2 separate regions of the Homo sapiens genome follow, and region 1 is linked to region 2. Evidence: promoter capture Hi-C in human tissues and cell types (Jung and others, 2019). All regions are on one chromosome and are shown on one strand. The core of a region is centred on a gene start or on the middle of the fragment in contact, and the rest is flanking DNA. Distances in the headings are between cores, read along the strand shown.

Region 1 (6,781 bases), core at 345-2,844, 300 kb before region 2:
CTTCGCAAGATAAAGCCAAAGTGGTTTACCAATTTACACTTCCACCAGTGATTTATAAGAAGCCCTCATTGAAGCTGGGCAAGCCAGGATGGTCTCGATCTCCTGACATCGTGATCTGCCCATCTCAGCCTCCCAAAGTGCTAGGATTACAGGCTTGAGCCACCACACCCGGCCAGCCTTCCCTATTATTAATATGACTATGGTTCATTTGTGATACCTAGTGAATTGATAGTGATACATTAGTTACTAAAGTTCATACTTGAGGTTTCTTTAGTTTTTGTGTATGTTCTTTTTCTGTTCCAGGATTTCATCCAGGATATGTTATTACATTTAGTTGTCATGTTTCCTTAGGGCCCTCTAGACTGATAAAATTTCTTAGACTTTTCCTTTTTCTTAATGATCCTAAAGGTACTTTTGATAAACAGAAATTCCTAATTTTAATGTATTTAGATGTATCAGTCTTTTACCTTCTGTTGTTAGCCTTTTGTTTGTTGTATTTAGTCTTTATCTACCCCAAGGTCAGAAAAAAATATATATATATATATTTTTTGAGACAGAGTCTTGCTCTGTTGCTTAGGCTGAGTGCAGTAGTGCGATCTTGGCTCACCACAACCTCCGCCTCCTGTGTTGAAGCGATTCTTTCTTCAGCATCAGCCTCCCGAGTAGCTGGGACTACAGGCGTGCACCACTATGCCTGAGTAGCTGGGACTACAGGCGTGCACCACTATGCCCGAGTAGCTGGGACTGCAGGCTCATGCCACTATGCCCAAGTAGCTGGGACTACAGGCGTGCGTCACTATACCCGGCTACTTTTTGTATTTTTAGTAGAGACAGGGTTTCACTATGTTGACCAGGCTGGTCTCAAACTCCTGACCTCATGATCCACCTGCCTCGGCCTCCGAAAGTGCTGAGATTACAGGAATGAGCCACCATGCCTGGCCAAAAATATATTTTTTAATTTTCTTCTAACACTTTTGCTTTCATTTATTTACTTATTTTGAGATCGGGTTATGAGACTGGCTAATTTTTGTATTTTTGGTAGAGATGGGTTTTTGCCATGTTGCCCAGTCTGGTCTTGAACACCAGGGCTCAAGCGATCCACCTGCCTCGGCCTCCCAAAGTGCTGGGATTACAATAGTGGGCCACCGAGCCCATCCTAAAGCTTTTACTTTTAAATTTTAAGCAGGCTGGGTGTGATGGCTCATACCTGTAATCCCAGCACTTCGAGAGGCCAAGGCGGACAGATCACTTGAGGTCAGGAGTACAAGACCAGCCTGGTCAACATGGTGAAACCCCGTCTCTACTGAAAATACAAAACTTAGCCGGGCGTGGTGGTGGGCGCCTGTAATTCCAGCTACTCGGGTGCCTGATGCACAAGAATCACTTGAAACTGGGAGGCAGAGGTTGCAATGAGCCGAGATTGTGCCACTGCACTCCAGTCTGGGTGATAGAGTGAGACTATCTTAAGAAAAAAAAATTTTTTAAGTCATAATCTTTCTGCAGTTGATACTTGTATCTGGTATTAGATAGAAATATGATATCAAGGGGTTGGGCGTGGTAGCTCATGCCTGTAATCCCAGCACTTTGGGAGGCCGAGGCAAGTGGATCACTTGAGGTCAGGAGTTTGAGATTAGCCTGGCCAACATGGCGAAAAATCATATCTCCTAAAAATACAAAAAAAAATTAGCCGGGTGTGGTGGCACCTGCCTGTAATATCAGTTACTAGGGAGGCTGAGTCAGGAGAATCACTTGAACCTGGAAGGTGGAGGTTGCAGTGAGCCAAGGTTGTGCCACTGTGCTCCAGCCTGGGCAACAGAGCGAGACTCCATCTCAAAAAAAAAAAAAAGAAGTACATCATTTTTCTTCATATTTGGAAAATCATTTTTTTTCCTATATGGAAAATGTTTTTTCAGTTCCATTTTTGAATAGTTCTCCTTTCCTCTCTCATCTGCTATGCCACCTCTTAGTATTTAGTACATTTAAAAAAGTAATAAGTGGCCAGGCACAGTGGCTCACGCCTGTAATCCCAGCACTTTGCGAGGCCGAGGTGGGTGGATCACCTGAGGTCAGGAGTTTGAGACCAGCCTCAACATGAAGAAACCCCATCTCTACTAAAAATACAAAATTAGCCAGGTGTGGTGGTGCATGCCTGTAATCCCAGCTATTTGGAGGCTGAGGCAGGAGAATTGCTTGAACCTGGGAGACGGAGGTTGCGGTGAGCCGAGATTGCGCCATTGCACTCCAGCCTGGGCAACAAGAGTGAAACTCCGTCTCAAAAAAAAAAAAGAAAAAAGTAATAAATATGCTTGGGTCTGTTTCTGGGCCCTTTGGTTCTGTTTATTAACTTGTCTATCCCTGCTCTGTTACCACACTGCCTATTTCTCTTAACAGGTAGATTTCCCCCGGTCTTCTAAAGTGTCATTACTCCTCTTGGCCCTTTGTACTTCCTTATATTTCTTTTGATATGTTTCCCAGGCTTTCTGTCTCTGGTCGTGATGAGAACAGTGTGGAGTTAACCATGGCTGAGGGACCCTACAAGATCATCTTGACAGCACGGCCATTCCGCCTTGACCTACTAGAGGACCGAAGTCTTTTGCTTAGTGTCAATGCCCGAGGACTCTTGGAGTTTGAGCATCAGAGGGCCCCTAGGGTCTCGTGAGTACAGGGGTTGGGACTGCAGGGAACCTAGTGTGAAAGAGCATAGGGGTGTTGTGAGGTCTGGCACGGGGAGGAGACGGTGGTGGGACAGCCAGGTAGGGCCTGGGGGCTGGGAGAAGCTCTCTGTCAGGGAGGGTAGGAACCAGACCCGGGTGCGGTTTTTTCCATTTCCTGTACAGACCAGGAGGCAGTCACTTTTGTCCCTGAGCTGTACCCTGGGCATCTCTGGGAGGCCTGCCTGGGTCTGTGTCTCCTTCTTCCCCTTCTCACATCATCACATTTCCCAGATTTATTTTCTTCGTTTTTATTTATTTATTTTTTTTGGTTTCTTTTTCCCCCCATCTCTGGAAGTTTGTCGACTGAAACTCACTTTTATGTTTCTGTTTTTGTGTTGGTTTTGTGCCTCTTTTTCCCCTTCCCTACCCATCTCCTCCTGCCCCAGTTTCTCGGATAAGGTTAATCTCACGCTTGGTAGCATATGGGATAAGATCAAGAACCTTTTCTCTAGGTAAATCCATGGCCACCGGTACTGTATCTGTTCCTCTGCCCTTACCCATTCCTCACTCTAGCCTTTGGGGGGAGGTGCCCCAGACCCTTCCAGCCTTTCACTCACCCCACTTTCCCCTGCTGTGTGATGTCTGGTCCTGTTACCTGTTACCCTGGCTGGGAGCCCCCAGAAGAAGGAAGGTGAGATACTGAAAGTCAGGTCCTTCGGGAATGTAGGGAGCTTATTGCTTTGCCAGGGGATGGAGAGATGCTGCCTATTGCTGGGGTTCCTGACTCTCAGCTGAGGGGCACCTGAGGTTCTGGGCAGAGCTACTTGCCCTTGAAAGCATTTTTTGGCAGAATCTCTTGAAGTCCCTATGTATGTCTGTAGAGGCTTGGTATAGTATGACCCACATGCCTTTGCAAAGCCATTGTGTCAGGCCAGGAGGCTGAGGCCCAGGGAGAGCACTTGGGGCCAGAATCTCTCAGTAGAGGCAACAGAGCCAGGATTGGCATTCATAACCCAGGCCCCTGAATCATTCTGCCTTTCTCTTCTGGGATGTTGACAGAGGCTGGTGTTCAGGCCTGTGCCTCCTGGTGGCACTTATTCCTCATTTTCCTTTCTCATTTCTCTCCCCATCCTTTGCAAACTTATCTGCTCATTGTGGGTTCCCTCTCCAAGCTTTAACATTTAGTCCCTTCCTCCAATGCCTTCGTTCCTTTGGACCCTTGGCTCTCTATTCCCCAACCCCTCCTTCCACTAGCCCCTCGTCCCTGCCCCCTCTGGATTGGAGCAGACAGCTCTCCTACCTTCCAGGCAAGGATCAAAAGACCCAGCTGAGGGCGATGGGGCCCAGCCTGAGGAAACACCCAGGGATGGCGACAAGGCAAGTTGGAGCGGGTGGGTGGTTGGAGGATAGGGCTGGCTGGGAGGGTGGAGGGGAGAGGCCCATGAGAAACTTGAACTTAGTCTCCCCATCAGGGATGGGATTTAGTTGATGGGAGCGGGGAAAGAGAGAACTGGTATGATTGGAGAGTGGTCCTCTTTTCTTCTTAACAGCCAGAGGAGACTCAGGGGAAGGCAGAGAAAGATGAGCCAGGAGCCTGGGAGGAGACATTCAAAACTCACTCTGACAGCAAGCCGTATGGTGAGGGGCTCGGGTTCCTTGGGCTGGGGTGCAGGGCTCCTTTCCAAGCAGAAGCTCTGAAGCTTGTTTGTTTTTCTTCCAGGCCCCATGTCTGTGGGTTTGGACTTCTCTCTGCCAGGCATGGAGCATGTCTATGGGATCCCTGAGCATGCAGACAACCTGAGGCTGAAGGTCACTGAGTGAGTCCTATGGTGACATCAGGAAGATGGAGGTGGGCAGGAAGGAGTCAGGCCTTTAGGGAGATGGGTGTGCATATTGGATACTCTAGGCAAGCATGGGTCATTTCTTGTGTCCAGAATCACCTTTGGTGATAGAAAATTTTTTGAGAAAGGACAAGAGGAGCCTTTGCTTATCTCTCACCTGTGTCTGTGGAGTGGTGTTAGCATATAACGCAGCCTGGGGCCAGTTAGCAGCCCAAGTCTGTCTGTTTGCCTGCAGGGGTGGGGAGCCATATCGCCTCTACAATTTGGATGTGTTCCAGTATGAGCTGTACAACCCAATGGCCTTGTATGGGTCTGTGCCTGTGCTCCTGGCACACAACCCTCATCGCGACTTGGGCATCTTCTGGCTCAATGCTGCAGAGACCTGGGTTGATATATCTTCCAACACTGCCGGGAAGGTGAGAGCACAGGCACGGGGAAAAAGGAGGGAGTGAAGCTTCCAGGCCTTGAGGCAAATAGGTATACTAGGGGCATTAGCTATTTGGGGACTGGGTTTAAGAAGGGGCTGTGGGCCTGGTGGGCAGCATTTGAGTTCCCTAATCACTCCCAGGTGACACGCTCACTCACATTCTTAGGGAAGGCATTGCCTATTCTGGGCTGACGGAATGCACTTATTATCAGTGTGTTACGTGCTAGGTACTCTTCTGGGTGCTGGGGATATAGTGTTAACTGAGGTTGAAAAGGTTCTGGGCTGGGTGTGGTGGCTCATGCCTGTAATCCCAGCACTTTGGGAGGCTGAGGTGGGCGGATCACCTGAGGTCAGAAGTTGGAGACCAGCCTGGCCAACATGGCGAAACCTCATCTCTACTAGAAAAACAAAAATTAGCAGGGTGTGGCGGCGGACTCCTGTAATCCCAGCTATTCGGGAGGCTAAGGCAGGTTAATTGCATGAATCTGGTTGGTGGAGGTTGCAGTGAGCGGAGATTTCACCACTGCACTCCAGCCTGGGTGACAGAGTGAGACTCTGTTTCAGAAAAAAAAAAAAGAAAGGTTCTGACTCACAGGGAGGAAGACACGTTAAACACATAACAAAGGAGGCAAGATGGGGCCGGGCATGATAGCTCATGTCTGTAATCCCAGCACTTGGGGAGGCTGAGGCAAGAGGATCGCTTGAGGCCAGGAGTTCGAGACCAGCCTGGGCAACATGGCGAGACCCCATCTCTATAAAAACGTTTGAAAAATAAAAATAATAAGCAAGATGATGCCGGGTGCAGTGGCTCCCACCTCTAATCCCAGCACTTTGGGAGGGCGAGGTGGACAGATCACAAGGTCAAGAGATCGAGACCATCCTGGCCAACATTGTGAAACCCTGTTTCTACTGAAAATACAAAAGTTAGCTGGGTGTGGTGGTGTGCGCCTGTAGTCTTAGCTACTCGGGAGGCTGAGGCAGGAGAACTGGTTGAACTGGGGAGGTGGAGATTGCAGTGAGCTAAGATCACACCATTGCACTCCAGCCTGGCAAAAGAGTGAGACTCTGTCTAAAAAAAAAAAAAAGAATGCAAGATGAGTTTGGGGTGATTAAGTGCTAACAAAGACATGAAAGAGAGTCTTTGTTAGCACTTAACCACCCCAAACTGGTGGGGTAGGGGTGGGGGCTGTACTGCTTTAGATAGTGTGGTCTAGGAAAGCCTCACTGAAGAGGCCCCGTTTAGTCTTACCGAAAGCAGCTTACATGAGCCAGCTCTGTGTGGACTCTGGGAGAAAATTGCTACTTTTTGTCTTGGGGTTGGAAAATGGGAGGGCAGGAGGTGTCTGACCCCTTTGTGGTCACCTATACAGACCCTGTTTGGGAAGATGATGGACTACCTGCAGGGCTCTGGGGAGACCCCACAGACAGATGTTCGCTGGATGTCAGAGACTGGCATCATTGACGTCTTCCTGCTGCTGGGGCCCTCCATCTCTGATGTTTTCCGGCAATATGCTAGTCTCACAGGTACATGGTTTTCCCTGCCTCATTCTTCTGCTCTTTTCTTGTCGGGTGATTCTATGTGTTTTCAGAGATCCTGTGCCCCAGCTTGTTTTCTAGGTTTATACCCCTCAGCCTGCCTCTAGTTCACAAGCCTCCCTCAGTTTCTGGGTGTTGGGCCTGATCCTCGTTGTGACCCCCATCCCTCATGAACCTGCAGGAACCCAGGCGTTGCCCCCACTCTTCTCCCTCGGCTACCACCAGAGCCGTTGGAACTACCGGGACGAGGCTGATGTGCTGGAAGTGGATCAGGGCTTTGATGATCACAACCTGCCCTGTGATGTCATCTGGCTAGACATTGA
Region 2 (6,303 bases), core at 797-3,296:
ATTCCAAAAAAGGGTGGACTGAGTGAAAGAAGCGAAACACAAAGGAATACACTCTGCACTCCAAAGTTAACCTGAAAACTTTGGAACCTTGTCGGGGGAGGTAGGACATGCCTCATTATTCCCTCCTCCCTTTTGGAATTCAGGCCCAGCTGACCAGCACTAACATTAAAACAGATCTTAAGACTGACAAAGCAGACTTTGTAGCAATAAGATACCAAATTCCAGCGGGACTCTAGTATGACATCACATGACAGATAGCAAGCCCTGAAAGTGAAGTATTTTACCCCAAATTACGTTTCTTCGCCATATCTTGAAATAGTCCTGCAAAGCTAAAGCTATCTCTTGTGGGGAAAATCTACATTCTGAAGAGAATCCCCTTCCTTTTCTAGGCCTTTTTCCTGATTCAGGAGAGAATCAACTCTGATAAGAAACATTTACAATTTATTCTCTCAATAGACTGCTACCTGGAGACTTCCTCTGCCTAAGGGAAATCTTGGTCTCCTCAACCTCTTATCTTAATGCAGACATTCCCTTCTTTTTTCAGTTTTTTTTTTTTTTTTTGAGATAGTCTCGCTCTGTCGCCCAGGCTGGAGTGATCTCGGCTCACTGCAACCTCTGCCTCTCAGGTTCAAGCTATTCTCCTGCCTCGGCCTCCCGAGTAGCTGGGGTTACAGGCTCCTAGCACCACGCCTGGCTTTTTTTTTTTTTCTTTTGTATTTTTAGTAGAGGTGGCTTTTCACCTGTTAGCCAGGCTGGTCTCGAACTCCTGACCTCAGGTGATCCACCCGCCTTGGCCTCCCAAAGTGCTGGGATTACAGGCGTGAGCCACCGTGCTAAACCGCCTTCTATTAATTCTATCTGCAGCCACAAGTCCTTATATAATCCAGACATTCCCTTCTGTGGATTCCAGGTGTTTGGACAAAACTTTAAATCAATTGTTCATCAGAAAATCTTTGAATCTTAACTATGACCTGGAAACCACTCCCCCTCCCCCAGTAGTCTCACCTCTCCAGATGGAACCAATGTATGTCTTGTATGTACTGATTGACATCTTATGTCTCTCCAGAAGCACACATTCTCAGGATTTCCCAAGAGCTGTATCAGAGGCCATTGGTCACTCATATTTGCCTCAGTATAAATCTCTACAAATATTTTAGCGTTTGACTCTTTTCAGCACAGGTAGAAAAATTAAATATTGTTTCTTTTTTACATACTTAGTTTCACCCCAAAGCTCATTAGATTCCCTAACACTATGTAGGTTCTATTTATTCTGAAGAAGGAGCTTGACCTGACTCACATTATTTACTAGCTGAAAGGCACATTTACCTGCGTTGAACTCGGGATCGTCTTCCAGGGCGACGACAGCTCCCTCTACGGCATCCACGGCGCTCCCGCCCTCCCGGAGGATGCCGTAGCCCACGGTGGCGGCTCTGACCATGCCCTGGTGCACTCGCTCCTTCCGATCCTTGGAGATGGGACCGGCTCCGCCGCCGTGGACCACTACGATGGGATTCATGTCGGCGGATCCTAGGCAGCAGGAAGGCGAAAGCGTCGTCCAAAGCCAGCCCAAGGAAGCCGCGCGGGTACAAGGTCCTCGGGAGACCCTGTGGGGACAATGCCCAGTCTCTGTTCTGAACGGCTGGGTTCGCAGCTGGGGGTGGGTAGGGGCGGCTCGGTCGAGCTTGGTACGAAAAGCCCAGGGGCCCGGCGCCCTCCCGCGTTCCTCTCCGCCCCCGGCCCGGACCTGCTGGGGGTCTCAGTTTCCCCGGGGACGTTAACCCGCGCCCACCGCCGCCCGCCTCCAAGCCCCGGCGCCGAAGGAGGATGTCTATTTCGCCTTCGGGAAAATGTCTATTTTCGTTTATTTCATTCGCCCTCCCGCGTCTCGGGCGGCTGCTCCGGGAGGGCCGCCGACTTACCCAGGGCACCGCAGGACGCGGACGCCGAGACCTCAAGCTGGGTCGAGCCAGCCCCGCAGCCGCCCGGTACCGCCGCTCCCCGACGCCGGCTCGAAACCGCTCAGCCCGCAACCGCTCTGGTCACAACGGTTCTGCGCCTGCGCACGAGGGCGGGACCGCCGCACGGCCCAGTTCCCATAAAGCCCCGAAGGCCGGCTGGCGCGCACCTGTCTCACTCCTCTCAAGAGTCTACGCTCTTGGCCGGCCCGAGCTTCCTGGTGGCACGCGGGGAACCTCCTGCTCCTGACCAGGCTAGGGGCTGGGTGGTTGGGTTGGTGGCGAGAAGCGTGAAGTGGCATGCCACGATTTTGTAATTGCAGATTGAAAAGCAACGCTAGGCTGTGCGCAGTGGCTCATGCCTTGTAATCCCAGCACTTTGAGAGGCCGAGGCGGACGGATCACCTGAGGTCGGGAGTTCGAGACCAGCCTGACCAACACGGAGAAACCCTGTCCCTACTAAAAACACAAAATTAGCTGGGCGTGGTGGCGCATGCCTGTAATCCCAGCTACTCTGGAGGCTAAGGCACGAGAATCGTTTGAACCTGGGAGGCGGAGGTTGCGGTGAGTGGAAATCGCGCCATTGCACTCCAGCCTGGGCAACAAGAGTGAAACTCCGAATCAAAAGAAAAAAAAATTATACTGGGACAATGGGCATAAACAGGGACAGATCCAGGCAAACTGTGATTGATCTCCTGTGGATAGGAGAGTCCTTTCCCTTCTTGTTTACCCACAACTGATAACATATTTTACCACTCTTGGGAATTCCCTTTACTCCTGTTTTACCTTCGTTTCCTGCCTTAAGGCCCAGTTTAAATGAACCCCTCCTGCAAAGCCTTCTCCCTGGCACCCCACTAAGGATCAGTCATTCCCTTTCTAGTGACCTATTGTTAGAGATTACCACAAATTTATTGGCTTCAAACAACACACATTATCTTACAGTTCTGGTGGTCAGAAATTCAAACTGGGTCTGCAGGGTTGAGTTCCTTCGGGAAGCTCCAGAAGAGAATCTGTCTTTTCTTGCTTCTACAAGCTGCCTGTATCCTTGGCTCATGGCCTCATCCTCCATTGCCAAAGCCAACAGCCTAGCATCTTTAACTCTCTCTCCCTCTGGCCTGTTTCTGCTGCTACGTCACTTCTCTCTCTGTCACCATCATCACGATTTTCTTTTCTGACTCTGACTCTCCTGCCTCCTTCTTAAAGGAAGTCCCTTGGGATGACATTGGGCCCACCCAGATAACCCAGGATAATCTCCCTTTCTTACAATTTCTATTCTCATCTGCAAAGTCCCTTTTGCCATGTGAGGAGTGTTCACAGGTGGAGATTCGGATGTGACACCTTTGAGGGCCGTTATTCTGTCTCCCACACTCACCTCTTGGAAGAGGGTTATTTTAGCACGTCTCAACTGGTCGTGAGCCTAGTTGTGTCATCATAATACAGCTCACCATCATTTGGTTTCAGCTATTTATAGGAACCTGAACCCTACCCTATGCCTAGCCCTAACTCAAACCCCATCTCTACTGTTTTTCCTGATTGATCTGGAATTCAGTGATCTGGCTGAGGCTGGGGAAGGTGGCTGGTGGCCCAAGCAGGTAGAATGTTGGTTTCCATTTGATCCTCCCATCTCAGCCTCATGCGTTTATCTACTTCTCTGATGGGCTTCGTATTCCCCATCCCAATCCAAAGTCTCTTAGATAAATTCTCTAGAAAATAAACTTCTGGTCTTTGAGGAGGAAAGAGGAAGCATCTTTTTGTCCGGCTCTGTGGGATAGGAGAAGGAATCTGGCTAACTCCTCTGTAGACGATGTTCCATCAACAATCATTTTATGGATTAAGGATTGTATTCAACTGTCCCTGACGAAACGTGACCACAGTGGTTTAACCAGATAACTGTTGATTTGAAAACAACAATAACAACAACAACAACAACAACAACAACAAGACATCTAGTGGTTGCTGCCCAGGCTGGTGCAGCAGCTCCAAGGTGACACAGATGTCCCATCTCCTTCTCTTCCCTTCAGCATGTGGCTTTCACATTTATGGTGCTCCTAGGCACCTTGATCACTATTGGGGCAGAAGGAATGGGGAAGGGCAAAGGGAAGAAGGCTTTTGCCAGCTCCCCTTTGTTCCTTTAATTCAGGAAAGCTCTCTAGCTTTCCTAGAAGTCCTCCAAGTGGACTTTTATTGGCCAGAACTGGATTGGGGGGCTGCCCCTAGTGGCAAGAGAGTCTGAGTTTTTATTTTAGCAGGGTACATCATGGCCCTGGATAAAATCAAGGTCTCTTGGCAAGAAGGAAGGGTGACAGGCTATTGGAGAGACAACTGGGAACACCTGCCACTCCTGCCTCCCCATCTTTGAGATTCCTGTGTGTCTAAGCCCTGAGTCTCTCAAGCGTTCTCCAGAACAAATGGATTCACCTCTCAAGTAGATTACAACTTCCTTTAATCTGCCATTTGTTATTCATCTTCCAAAGTGACCTTTTTTACCTGCCATTGTCATCTCTCCCATTCTTCCTGTCTTTGTGGGTAGTATTCTTTTTAAGATTGTTTACTATCATTTTAGAGGGATTTTTGAAGGGAGGAGTAACCCATTTGTGTGACTGGGGAGGTTGACTAGAGCCCCAAGGAAGTGATTCTAACTACAGTGGCTCTGGATGTTCTAGGAGGAGGAGGGTTGGGTTAGGGAATGCCAGAGTTGGGGAGAGGAGGTGGGACCAGAAAAGGAGGGACTGGGCAGGGACTGGGCATTTCTGGGTCAGAAATGAAGGAGGCATATTAGAGAGATTGACGAAGAAGAAATGGGGGTGGGAGGGAGGAAGAGAAGAAAAAAAGAAAGAAGCAACTAACATTTCCTTCCTTTCCTTCCCTTCCTTCCCTTTCTTTCCTTTCTTTCTTTCTTCTTTGAGACGGAGTCTCGCTCTGTTGCCCAGGCTGGAGTATAGTGGTGCGATCTTGGCTGACTATAATCTCCATCTCCCGAGGCTCAGACATGATTCTCCTGCTTCAGCCACCCAAGTATCTGGGATTACAGGCATGCACCACCACGCCCAGCTAATTTTTGTATTTTTAGTAGGGATGGGATTTCAACATCTTGGCTACGCTGGTCTCGAACTCCTGACCTCAAGCGATTTGCCCACCTTGGCCTCCCAAAGTGCTGGGATTACAGGTGTGAGCCACTACACCTGGCCGCAACTAACATTTTCTGAAGGTCCACTGGGGAACTGGCAGGCTGCCTTTACTACGTTCTTACTGCCTAGCAACTTCCCATCCCCACCAGTCTCAGCTACATGAGGAAAAGGCTTTTGGCTGACCCCACTGGGGGCAGGATGGGAATCTGTGAGACTCCCTCCAAATTCTAGAATGTGTAACAGTATCTTGAGCCTGCCACCTTCCTATCTTGAGCTTCGCTTTCAAACAAGAAGCGGGACACATACGTTTCAACTCTGAGATCCCTGAGCTTATTTAGGAGATTTAGTACCCATGAATTTGTTCAGGAACGGGGCCTGAGGCTGTTTTTAGGAAGCCCACATCAGCATTTTGTGCAATAGCACTTCTTTCTAACTTTCTTCTCCTCTCTGACCACAGAATTGTAATTCAGTTAGTGATATGGGATGGGGGCAGGGAAGTGCTGGGTAGAGAAGGGCATGGTCCCTGGCTAGGGCTCCACCCCTGGGCCTGTGCCCATGGACCTAGGTGAGGACAGGCACTCCTGCCTTCAGGCCTAAATGTTGCATTTTCCAAGACCACTCTGGCCCACCACGCCCCCATCCTGTGCCCATAAAAACCTCGAGACCCAGCCGCGCGCGGTGGCTCAAGTCTGAAATCCCAGCACTTTGGGAGGCCGAGGCGGGTGGATCATGAGGTCAGGAGATCGAGACCATCCTGGCTACCACGGTGAAACTCTGTCTCTACTAAAAAGACAAAAAATTAGCCGGGGGTGGTGGCACGTGCCTGTAATCCCAGCTATTCAAGAGGCTGAGGCAGGAGGATGCTTGAACCCGGGAGGTGGAGGTTGCAGTGAGCTGAGATCATGCCAATGCACTCCAGCCTGAATGACAGAGCGAGACTCCATCTCAAAAACAAAACAAAACAAAACAAAACAAAACAAAACAAAAAAACACCTCAAGATCTTAGGGGGCAGGCACACAAGCGGCTGGACGCCGAGAGGAGCACGTTGGTGGAAGAGCACACTGACAGGTGCCAACAGATGCCGGCAGGCCATCGAGCAGTGGAGCCATGGTGGAGTTTGGCCGGGGCAGTCGGAGGAGAGCCTGGCCACTGGGCAGCCCGGCTCGGCAGGGAAAACCACCTTTCCACTCCATCCCCCTTCTGGCCTCGCTGAGAGCTA

What was found. The method cuts DNA at HindIII sites, captures the fragments that hold promoters and counts their contacts. A contact is called where the count stands out against the background at its distance.
Region 1: a fragment that was not itself captured here is called in contact with the fragment with the promoter of ASRGL1 in region 2 in 1 of the 25 tissues and cell types used here (hippocampus).

Annotation. Positions count from the first base shown.
Region 1 is chr11:62,630,695-62,637,475 of GRCh38, reverse strand. GANAB (glucosidase II alpha subunit) reads left to right here. Exons shown (of 24, transcript NM_198334.3): 5 at 2,476-2,655; 6 at 3,962-4,031; 7 at 4,205-4,292; 8 at 4,375-4,471; 9 at 4,731-4,911; 10 at 6,293-6,446; 11 at 6,640-6,781. Among named protein-coding and RNA genes, the nearest start is that of B3GAT3, 12 kb to the right of the region's middle. The HindIII fragment of the contact is 6,117 bases long and covers 1-4,652 here.
Region 2 is chr11:62,333,191-62,339,493 of GRCh38, reverse strand. It overlaps ASRGL1 (asparaginase and isoaspartyl peptidase 1), which reads right to left and starts at 2,046. Exons shown (of 7, transcript NM_001083926.2): 1 at 1,920-2,046; 2 at 1,327-1,604. The coding sequence starts at 1,516. RefSeq lists an enhancer at 1,466-2,135. The HindIII fragment of the contact is 36,513 bases long and covers 1-6,303 here.